Linked DNA regions of Homo sapiens: region 1 is linked to region 2. Evidence: promoter capture Hi-C in 16 types of primary human blood cells and fetal thymus (Javierre and others, 2016). All regions are on one chromosome and are shown on one strand. The core of a region is centred on a gene start or on the middle of the fragment in contact, and the rest is flanking DNA. Distances in the headings are between cores, read along the strand shown.

Region 1 (5,436 bases), core at 2,256-4,755, 78 kb after region 2:
TTTACTGTAATAGCTCAGGAGGCTGGAGTTGGTGGATCTTAGCTAGGCCTGTGGGTCAGCCAACCATCCACCGATCAATGCTAGCCTTGTCTGGGGCAACTCAGCTCTGCTCCATTTGTCTCTCATCCTCCTGGGATGAGCAGGCAAGCCCATGTCAATGATAGAAGCGCAAGAGGCTAGCCCTGGTGCACAAATCCATTTCAAGCCTCACATCTATTAATGTCTTTGGCAAAAGCAAGTCACATGGCTGAGTCTAGAGGGGATGGGCAGGGCAGGGGTCCCCACTGCAGAGTTATGAAGCAAAGTGGGAGGGTACAGGGTGTGGAGACGAATTGGGGCCATCTCACACGTGACAAGGGCTTGAGCAGAAGGGATTGAGTCCATATATCAGAAATTCATGAGTTTCGGATTTCTTTGTTCTTTAGCAGTTTGATTGGCAAACTTGCAGGTCCAAGTTGGAGACTGCATGCATTTATTTGAGCATCTGTTAGCCAGTCACTTCCCTAGTAGGACCCTAGGACAGGGGCCATTCCCTTCATCACTATCTCACCTCCCCAGGCATTGTGGCTGCCCTGACCTGGCCAGCCTCACTCCTCAGTGTCGCCAATGTCATCGACAACCCCTGGGGGGTGTGTCTCCATCGATCAGCAGAGGTTGGCAAGCACCTGGCCCACATCCTGCTCTCCCGGCAGCAGGTACCTGGGAATGGCTGTGTGGGCGTGGCATTGAGCAAGAGGGGAAGTCAGGTGCTGACTTGTTCACAGATATCAGCCTTAGAGGCAAGGCTACTTGGAGATAACTCAATGGTTTTGGGGGTGTGGGCAGTCCTTGCTGCCTCTCCAGTTCAAGTAATGAATGTGTCCTAGGATGAACAGTAAAAATTATAGACTCTGCAGCTCTAGCAGGTATTTAGGTAAGGACTGAATAACAGGGCATCTGCAGGTAGGAACAAGTCTGGGGGACTCTGGCAGAAGCAAAAGTGGCTCCTATGTATCAGCTCTTCATTCAAGTGTTTAGGATAATCACTGGGCTCATTTGGGTGATATTTCAGTGGAAACCTCTGACGCAGTTTGCAGTGAAGCCAGTAAAGTGAATGAGACCAGGTGCTTCAGCTGGCCACCAATGGAATTCCCACATGCTGGTGGCCTGGTGTTCCTTCCCAGAAGTATAAAGCTACTTTGTGAGGTCATCTTTGGTGGTCTAAATACCATGTAAAATGGTTAGGAAGAGACATCATCATAATACTTTTAAAATTTGAATCTAGTAAAGATGTACTTACCAAGAGAATAAAACCATCCCCTTCAGAATAAAACTTGAGTGAATGGAGACAAAAGCTTGAGAAGCAGTACCAGAAATGACTGCATTGTCAGGATTTGTTTTGGCTGGAAGTGGGAGAAAACCCAAAATAACAGTGGCTTAAACAAGGTAGAAATTTATTTTCCTGGAGAAGCCTAGCAAGGTTGTCTAATAGCCTTCCATGGTGCAGAGGCCCAGGTTCCTGCTACCTTGTTGCTCTGGGGTCTTGACCTTGTATCAAAGATGGCATCATCCGAGCTCCAGGGAGCAGGAGAAAGGAAGAACTGAAGAAGAAACAGCAAAGCCTTACAACATTTCAGTTGGTGTCTCACTGGCCAGAGCCTAGTCACATGACCATTCCTAGCTGCCACAGAAGCTGGGAAATATAGTATTTATTCTGAGTGATGATGAACCCAGCTGAAATTCAATTACTATGGAAAAAAGGGAGGATGGATATTGAGGGATGACAACTAGCAGTTTCTGCCATGCAGCTAAACTGCTTGAGCAACTGGCCACCCCCTTCAATCCCTGCGTCTTTGTCAAAAGAAACAGAAAATCCTTCGGCAGGCTTGACTCTAAGGCAAAGGCCAAAGTGGCATTGGCTTAGACAAGATAGAATTTTGTTCTCTCCCAAGTAAGAGTCTGGGTGTCAATATCTGGAGCAAGATGATGTGTTAGTTTCCTGCTGCCACTGTTACAAATTACCACAAATTTACCAGCTGAAAACAAATGTACTATTTTACAGCTCTGGAGGTCAAAAGGCAAAAATGCATGCCTTAGGGAGGATCCCCTTTCCTTGCCCTGTGCTAAGTCTCAGCCCTGTGGCCACCTCAAGCTACGGAGGAGTCAGGGAAACTTCGTCTTTGGCTGGGTGGCCGTGTGCCCAGTCAAACTCAGGAGTAAAGGACAAAGGGGAGAATGATATTGGGCAGTGGCCAGCAGGGTTGGCACAAAGCTCCTGCAGGATTCGAATACTGTTTAACAGAGGATTTTCTACTGTGGTAAGTGGAGTGGTGTGGGGATGTGGAATACGTGTATTGGCACAAAACCAAGGAAAAGGAATAGACTGGTAAAACCAGGCTGGGCCTCCAGAGCTCATCCACTCCCCTCCTCTCCTTCCATGTAAGCTTGTACCCAAACACCCCCAGATAACTTTCATTTTCTTTAGAGTCTTGACATGATCAGTTACCTTTTCTTACAAGTCCTTGAGTCAGAAAATTCCTCTTTCCATCTGACTTACTACCTTATCTTATCACTTAGAGCCAATATTTTGTGCCCCACCTTCCTATCTAGAAACTGAACTGTTGTCCCTCCCTTGTCACTCTTGCCTTTTTACCCCTCACACCTGGGGGTGCCTTCTGTCTAATCTCCCCAGCTCCGGAAGGGGTCCCGCAGCACTGCAGCCATTTGCCGCAAGGCAGATCAGTGCAAGGGAAGTTGCTCTTGTAATTGACTAGCCCTGTCTCCTGGGGAAGATGAGACGGTGGCTGGATAATGATTTGAGATGAAAGGGAATTAACCCAGCCGGGGGCTGCCTGTTGGCCTTGGAGGAAGCCAATTCCAGCAGCAGGTGCACTCCTGCATAAATGAGGGTCCTGACTCTGCTGATTAAGACATCAGCGCTCAGGGACCGGAACAGCACATGCATGATTCATTAGATGAGAATCAGGTGGTAAGGAATGTGCAAAGGCTGCCCTCCTCAGGCCTGATGTTTTGCTAGAACTGGCAGTATTCCTTCCAGACACCTGTGTCCTTTTTCCCTTCAGGGGCGACGACCTGTCACCTTGATTGGCTTCAGCCTGGGAGCCAGAGTCATCTACTTCTGTCTGCAGGAGATGGCTCAAGAGAAAGGTGAGCATGGATTATTGTCACAGACGGAAACCCTTCACAAGCTTGTTCCCAGGGACAGATGTTCTGGGCCAGGGGCCATGAGCCTTGCAAAATGTGTTCCCAGTTCTTAGAAATAATAGTTAAAAGTTAAAAATAGTTTAAAAATCAAGAAAAATCGTCATCAACCTTGGGGAAATGATTTTATATACATACATTAGAGTAGATGCAAGATGGACCATCCTGTAATAATGACACTGGCTTTTGTGTTCTAATGCACTTTCCCAAGTGGGAATGAAGGGGACAAGAAATTCAAAATTAAGGTGTTGGCAGGTGCACTTTCCCTCTGAAGGCTCTAGTGGAGGATTTTTCCTGTCTCTTCCAACTTCTTGTGGCTGCCAGCAGTCCTTAGCATTCCTTGGCTTGTAGACATGTCATTCCAGTCTCTGCCTGTTGTCTTCTCTCATAAGGACAGACAGAGTCATTGGATTTAGGGCCCACTCTCATCCAGGGTGATCCCATGTCAAGATCATTTACTTAATTATATCTGCAACGACCCTTTTACCAGATGAGGTCGCATTCACAGGTTCTGGGTGGACATATCTTCTGGGGGTTCACCATTCAACCACACACAGACACCTTTGGGAGTGTGTCATGCCTCCAGTGTCATCCTTTCTGTGCAAGGCAGTGAAAAGCTTGAGGGCTGCTGCTCCTGGCCTTGGGTAGGTGAGGTCTCCAGGGCAGAATGCTGGTTTTGGACAGATCTGTCAGCAGGGGCTGCCTGTGGAGGGGCTGGTTGGGAGAGTGAGTTGCCGAGCCTGGGGCACTTGGAGTGGTTCACTGCTCCTGGAACATGGGCTCACCTCCTCTCAGTGGAAGGTAGCAGCGGCAGGACTCTGAAGGCAAGAGGAGGAACTCAGAGAGAAATTGTTGAACCTGGGAGTGGAGGGTGGATGGGAGAGAAGGATTGGAGCTTAATATGATTTGGTTGTGTCCTCACCCAAATCTCATCTTGAATTGTGGCTCCCACAATCCACATGGGTCATGGGAGGGACCCGGTGGGAGGTAATTGAATCAGGGGGGTGGGTTTTCCCCATGCTGTTTCCATGATAGTGAATAAGTCTCATGAGAGCTGATGGTTTTATAAAGGGCAGTTCCCCTGCACGCGTTCTCTTGCCTGCCACCATGTACGACGTGCCTTTACTTCTCCTTTGCCCTCCACCATGATTGTTATTTGTTGCTGCAAAACGGCCTCTCCAAACACGGTGGCCAAAAGCAGCAATAACTGATCATTTCTCACGATTCTATGAGTTGGCAAGACCATTTGCCTCTCCTGCCTGGGCTTAGTCATGCAGTTGTAGTCAGAGCTGGAACACCCAGGAGGTCCAAGTTGACCTCATTCGTGTATCTGGCCATCGGTGCTGGTTGTCGGCCAATGCAGACTCCTCCCTGCTCTCCAAATCTACTTTTCCCAGGGAAGCCTTTGAAAAGTTGCCATCCTCTCTGCTGTCATCATTTTGCTTCTTTCCTTGTCATCTTTCCCTCTCTGGCAGCAAACCGTCTATCTGCCAGGCTCGTTACCTAGAGAGATGTAGTCTTATTAATAGAACCAATTCTTCATTCAGAGGGCATGTCTCTGCCTCCAGTTAGCATAAATGCTATGTTAACTTAAGATCGTTAGTACAGGCAAGACTTTAATTCCCCTGCCAAACAAATTGAATTAATTACCATGAACCATTTGGCTGTGGTAACCGGAAGTGAGGTCGACTCTCAGCTGTCCCCAGAATGTGAGGCTGGAAACTGGAAAGAGGGAAGAGGGAGGCAGGTGGCTTCTTGGTGACAGGGCTGGTTTGTGTGACACTGGGAAGTTCCTGCACTACAGCCTTTTGGGGGATGGTTCCCAAAGCAGCTTCCTTCCAGCATCTTTCCTGCTCGCTGCTCCCACCCCTGGATCCTCATGGCCCATAGCTGAGATTTTGGGTTTTGATATTAGGCAGACCTGGATTTGGCTCCTAGCTTTGCCACTGACTGGCTGTCGGACCTTGGGCTAGTCACTTAACCTCTCTGGGCCTCAGCTTCCTCAAAGGATATGAGCTTTGTACACTTATCTCAAAGGATCATGGGGGGATGACATAACGAATGTGAGAATTCCTGGCCCCAGTTTGGGTACACTCAGTAAATGTCCTCTGAATTCCAACCTGAGGACCTACTGTGCACAGGGAACTGTGGTGAGTGTTGTGTAGATGTCAGAACTTGTCATTTTGTGTCCGCTCTCCAGCCTCACATTAGATGTGAAGTCCAGGTAGGCAGGGT
Region 2 (5,955 bases), core at 3,456-5,955:
GACAAGAGTGTGAGCTGAGATGGTTTCCATTCAGCCCAAGGCAAGGAGGAGTGGAGAGCAACTCGGCGTTTGGCTGGGACCTGGCTCCCTGTGTTCACTGGAGTGTGGGGTGAGGGTCAGCTGATCAGGACAGAGGCCAAAGATGAGTGGACAGTTTGATCTCAGAACAGTGCTGCCACCTGACTCCTTTCTGACTTGACGGGAGGCCTAAAATTCAGATCAGACATGTTTTTGCAAAGGTACATGGGTGTGTGGTTCCTTGCACATGTGATTTCCAACATGATCTTCCTCAACTGGACTGGCTCCGGCTCCCCAGCCTGCAGCTAGGCTTGAAATTTCACCCCAACATGAGACTGTGTTTCTCACGATGGAGTGCGTATGACCCCAGGGCTGTGAGAAGCCATAAGATGGAAGAAACTGCATTTCAAATGAAAAAAGAAAAAAAAGCTTTACTCAAGATTAATGAGTTCATATTTGTACAGCAATTAAAACAAACAAATATGTTTTATTTGGAGATTTGGAAGGATTCGTGCATGCTTCGGGATTCTAATGTTGCAGTAAGCACAAATAGAACATGGAGAAGAATGTGAAACCTAGATGAATTTAACATTTTAAGTCTCCGGAGACACTTTTGAATTCCCCTGGGGTAGATCTGCTTCAGGCTCCACCTCAGACTCTGCCCATATTCACTCCTCTTCAAGAAGCATTGGCCGAATCAGTCACCAAAGTGTCTTATCTCATGTCCCTGGAAGAGATCAATTTCACCTAGGTCAGTTACAACCCAAAGTACATAAATTACTAAGCCTCCTGTGAGCAGGTTGTAGTCAGGGGTGGAGGGCTTAAATAATCCATAATTTCCTCAAGTGTTAACGTCTCCATTTTGTTTTATTTTATTTTATTTACTTTTTTTTAAATACAGAGTGTCACTCTGTCACCCAGGCTGGAGTGCAGTGGCACGATCTTGGCTCACGCAACTGCGACCTCCCAGGCTCAAGCTATCCTCCTGCCTCGGCCTCCCAAGTAGCTGGGGCTACAGGTATGCACCACCAGGCCCAGCTATTTTTTGTATTTTTAGTAGAGATAGGGTTGCACCTCATTGCCCAGGCCGGTCTCGAACTCCTGAGCTCAAGCGATCCACCCACCTCTGCTTCCCAAAGTGCTGGGATTACAGGCTTGAGTCACTGTGCCCGGCCTCCATTTTATCAAATTTTAAAACTGAACTGCAGTGAAGTTAAAATTCTTGCCCAAGGTCACATAGCTGGTAAAGTGACAGGAGCCAGATTTCCAGCTATAGTCAGTGCTGGTGATAGTTAAGGCAAGGCACTTTTGAGAAACAAAGTTGTTCCTAAGCCAAGATGGTAGGAGGAGGACAACAGGAAGGAATGCTCTGTTAACAGTGGTCATTTCTCAGGGGTTGCAGTAAGATGAACTTTCACATTCTACTTTATTTCTGTAATACTTGGGTTGTTCCAGCCAATATGTTTTCTTAACGGTGGTTGCCCAATGATGTTAAAAGGTTATTTTTTAGGCTCTAACCCCAAATAACTTCCCTTGGTCTGATTTCAACCTCACTCAGCTACCTTCTGACAATTTGATTTCCCATTAAGCTGGCTAGAGAGAGAGGCACTGGCCGGCTGGGTGAAGCGGCTCATGCCTGTAATCCTAGCATTTTGGGAGGCTGAGGCAGGTGAATCACCTGAGGTCAGGAGTTTGAGACCGATCTGGCCAACATAGTGAAAGCCCATCTCCACTAAAAATACAATATTAGCCGGGTGTGGTGGCACACGCCTGTAGTCCCAGCTACTCAGGAGGCTGAGACAAGAGAATCGCTTGAGCCCGGGAGGCAGAGGTCGCACTCCAGCCTGGGCAAGACAGAGCGAGACTCTATCTCAAAAAAAAGTGAGAGGGACACTGGCCAAGCCAACATCACTGTGTGGCCCACCTGATTTTCTATTCTTATTATAAATGAATGTGGCTCAACACATTTTTCTCCTCTCATCCCTAATCCATCCTAGGGTCTCACAAACAGAAAATAACATTATGCAATGCAAGTCCAAGCAGAGAAAACACAGAATCTCTTCTAGCATGGTAACACACAGGCATTCGGTCACTCTTGTCCGTGTACAAAGTCTGGTTGTCTCATCAATGCCTGACCCTTTGTCAGAGAGCAAGTAAAGGCTTCTTTTCTTCATCCATTGCTGTGTTACATAGAGGTCTTTCACTTGCAAGGGACAGAAGTTCAATTTGAACTGACTTAAGAATAAAAATCAGGGTAGATTTTATAGGTTAATATCCTTGAAAAAATCCAATGCTAGGTGTCCTGCTTCAGGTGTTCAAATAACATCATCAGGCCTTTGTCTGATTCTTTTCTCATTTTTCTTTTGTGCTGACCTTACTCTTGAGCAGGTTCTCTGCACACTGTGGTCCTGGCAGCCCCAGGGTTCCATCCTCTAACTTAGAAACCCAGCACAAAGAGAAACTTCTCAAGGGCTCCAACAGAAGTCTCAGAATTGAATCTCATTGGCTTGGCTTCGATTATATGCCTACGCTCAAACCAATGGCTGCAGCTAGCAGAGCAGAGCATGCTAACTGGCCTGTCCTGAATTGTATCAGGGCCCCACTTCCAGAGAGCTGGAGCCAGACATCACCCTCTCCGTGAGCACAGAATGACGGTGGGAAGCAGTGGTTGCCCAAAGTGAAAACAGAGAACTGTTACCCAAAAAAGGGGAAAGAATGCTAGGCATGGGGGAAAAAACATGCCTAGATCCAAGGCCACCTTCAGCTTGATCTGGGGGAAAACGTGATATAGATGTGTATCTATACCTTAGTATCTGAGACAGGTCTCAGTTAATTTAGAAAGTTTATTTTGCCAAGGTTGAGGACACATGTCCGTGACACAGCCTCAGGAGGTCCTGATGACATGTGCCCAAGGTGGACAGAGCACAGCTTGGTTTTATACGTTTTAGAGGGACATGAGACATCAATCAACATATGTAAAATGAACATTGGTTCCATCTGAAAAGGTGGAGCAACTTGAAGCAAAGGCAGGAAGACCTGAAGTGGGGAAGGGGCTTCCAGGTCACAGGTGGATAAGAATGGTTACATTCTTTTGAGTTTCTGATTAGCATCTCCAAAGGAGGCAATCAGATATGCATTTGTCTCAGTGAGCAGAGAGGTGACTTTGAATAGAATGGGAGGCAGGCTGGCCCTAAGCAGTTTCCAGCTTGACTTTCCCTTGTGGCTTAGTGATTTTGGGGCCCCACGATTTATTTTCCTTTCACAGAGGTAACTGATGGTCTAGCTACAGGTTGAGAAGAAATGGGATGGGATGGTGAGAGTATTGGATTTCAGAGATAGAGGGCCCAGGGGGAGTGGGGAGGTGGGAGTTACCGATCCCACAAGGGAGGGAGCCCCTTTGGGGCTGGTGACTCCAGGACACAGAGGGTGGCCTGCAGTGCCAGCTACTGGGGTAAGGGAAAGAGCTGAATCAGAGGCACAGGACTCTGTGTGGCCCTTGGCAGGTGACATGAGCACCAAAGGATCCTTCACACGGGCTTCTGAGTTCAGAGTGGCCTGAATGAAACATTTGTTTGAGGGAGTGCACATGCCACCCCGCCATTTGCCCTTGAGGGCAAAGTAAGGAAATCACGTTTTCCTAACTGCTGTGTTACTAATATCTGCCTGTCTCACATGAGTCCTCTTAGCCTACGCCACCCGGCTGGGGCCAGTTGTGTCCAAATGAACCAATGAAATTGATTCAACCAGACCTTGGACGCTGGTAGATTCCACAAGGTCCTGCTCCATGGAAGGCCCCTTGGCAGGCAGCCAGCAGCCTACCCTGACCACACCCTGCCCTTGTTTCCCAGCCTTCCCTACAAGGCTGTATCAGGGTTCCGGGAAATGGGGGCTGGGGACCCCGGGCACAGGGCTTGGCTTAGAGTAGGCCCAAATAAATGGCAGCTGTTCTTAGTACTACTGGATACGCAGCATGCCTAGCACAAAACAGGACACCTGTGATTAGGCATGTGAAGTGTGCAGCAGGGCACCGATGGGAAGTTCATACACCCGTAACTGTGAATACAACAGCTGTGGCTCTAAGGAAATGAATACAGTAGCAGGTGCCAAACACCTGTGCGCTGTATGTGGTTTTGTTTTTCTGCGTTGGGTTGGGCTTTGTCCTCCTTCCACTCACTTTTCTTACCTCTCCCCTCCTCTTTCCAAGGCCACCTGCCTGTAAATGTGCTCCAAGTGCAAACAAACTTTTTTCCACTCATCCTGACATCCAAAAGTTTGTGTCTGAGAAAGCAGTGTCCACCAATCCACCTATGTCCGACTCATAGGGCTGTCTGTTTATTGTGCAGATTTGTAGATGCCAGTGAGCCAAGATCGGGCCACTGCACTCCAACCTGAGAGAACGAGACTCCGTCTCAAAAAAAAAAAAAAAAGTTAAATAAAAAAAATTAATAAAAGGTTCAGGGACCTGGGAAGTGGGGGTGAGAGAGTTGGATTCTGCTGCCTCCTAAAGCTTGAGCCACAGTTCTGTGGGCACCCACCAGGTACCTGGCCCCAACAGGAAAGTCCTGATTCACTAGACCCTTGCCCACTTTGCCCTCCTATCAGGCAATTCAAAGTCTCCAGACCCGCAAGTTACTGATTAACCCTAGGTTTTGAGAAAATAAATAATAATAACTGAAGGGACGACGTAAGCCAAGAAACAAGCTGGGCAGCTCTGGGAGAGAGGAGTGTCAGACAGCTGTTGTCAACAGGCACCTGGCCAGAGTGAAAAGGAGGGGCAGATTCCATCCAAGTCCCAGCGGCGCCAGCTGACACTCTCTGCCAATGCCCAGGTGCTGAGCGACAGTGTCCCACCGGTCCCTGTGCCCAGAATGGCCTGCACCAAGACCCTGCAACAGTCCCAGCCCATCTCCGCAGGAGCCACCACAACCACCACCGCTGTGGCCCCTGCTGGGGGTCATTCTGGCTCCACAGAATGTGACCTGGAGTGTCTGGTGTGCCGGGAGCCCTACAGCTGTCCCCGGTTGCCCAAGCTGCTGGCCTGCCAGCATGCCTTCTGCGCCATCTGCCTGAAGCTCCTGCTGTGCGTGCAGGACAACACCTGGTCCATCACCTGCCCGCTGTGCCGCAAGGTCACCGCCGTCCCCGGGGGCCTCATCTGCAGCCTGCGCGACCATGAGGCGGTGGTGGGGCAGCTGGCCCAGCCATGCACAGAGGTATCGCTCTGTCCTCAGGGGCTGGTGGATCCTGCTGACTTGGCAGCAGGACACCCCAGCTTGGTGGGAGAGGATGGACAGGATGAAGTAAGTGCAAACCACGTGGCAGCCCGGCGCCTGGCCGCGCACCTACTCCTGCTGGCCTTGCTCATTATCCTCATCGGGCCCTTCATCTACCCGGGTGTCTTACGATGGGTGCTCACCTTCATCATCGCCCTGGCCCTGCTGATGTCCACCCTCTTCTGCTGTCTCCCCAGCACCCGGGGCAGCTGCTGGCCCTCCTCCAGGACTCTCTTCTGCAGAGAGCAGAAACACAGCCACATCTCTTCCATTGCCTGAGTGCCCTCTGATGAGGCTATCCCTGCAGCCCTTTCTGCCCTTGGGCCCCCGGACTTCCACAATGAACAGGGTAAGGGGTTACGGACTAAGACTGGCTCCTTTGGGAAATCACATGCCAGCGGGACTTGCAAGCCACAACCGAGATGGCCAGCCTGGGTCAAGAATTACACGCTTGGATGACAGGCTTGCACTTGCCCTTGGGATAGCATAGCTAAAACTGTTGGTGGCTAGGGGAGCAGACACAAACTACTTGAACATGACAAGATGGGGGAAGCTCCTGTTCCTCTTATTCCAATGTTCTTGGTTTTTCTTTATATAACTTGATGAAAGTATTGCAGTATTGATGCCATTGTAGAATAGAACTGGAATTCCATTCTTTTTGCAA

Evidence for each region. Contacts are between HindIII fragments. The CHiCAGO score rates a contact against its expected background, and 5 or more counts as called.
Region 1: a contact is called between a fragment that was not itself captured here and the fragment with the promoter of RNF186 in region 2, in 1 of 17 cell types (endothelial precursors). The highest score is 5.5, in endothelial precursors.

What each region holds. Positions count from the first base shown.
Region 1 is chr1:19,735,083-19,740,518 of GRCh38, reverse strand. It overlaps TMCO4 (transmembrane and coiled-coil domains 4), which reads left to right. Exons shown (of 16, transcript NM_181719.7): 12 at 559-695; 13 at 3,063-3,147. Among named protein-coding and RNA genes, the nearest start is that of TMCO4, 62 kb to the left of the region's middle. RefSeq lists an enhancer at 1-103. The HindIII fragment of the contact is 630 bases long and covers 3,191-3,820 here.
Region 2 is chr1:19,814,033-19,819,987 of GRCh38, reverse strand. It overlaps RNF186 (ring finger protein 186), which reads left to right and starts at 4,705. Exons shown (of 1, transcript NM_019062.2): 1 at 4,705-5,955. The coding sequence starts at 4,887. The coding sequence ends at 5,570. It overlaps RNF186-AS1 (RNF186 antisense RNA 1), which reads right to left and starts at 5,579. Exons shown (of 2, transcript NR_186008.1): 1 at 5,435-5,579; 2 at 486-745. RefSeq lists an enhancer at 2,713-3,244. The HindIII fragment of the contact is 1,953 bases long and covers 4,528-5,955 here.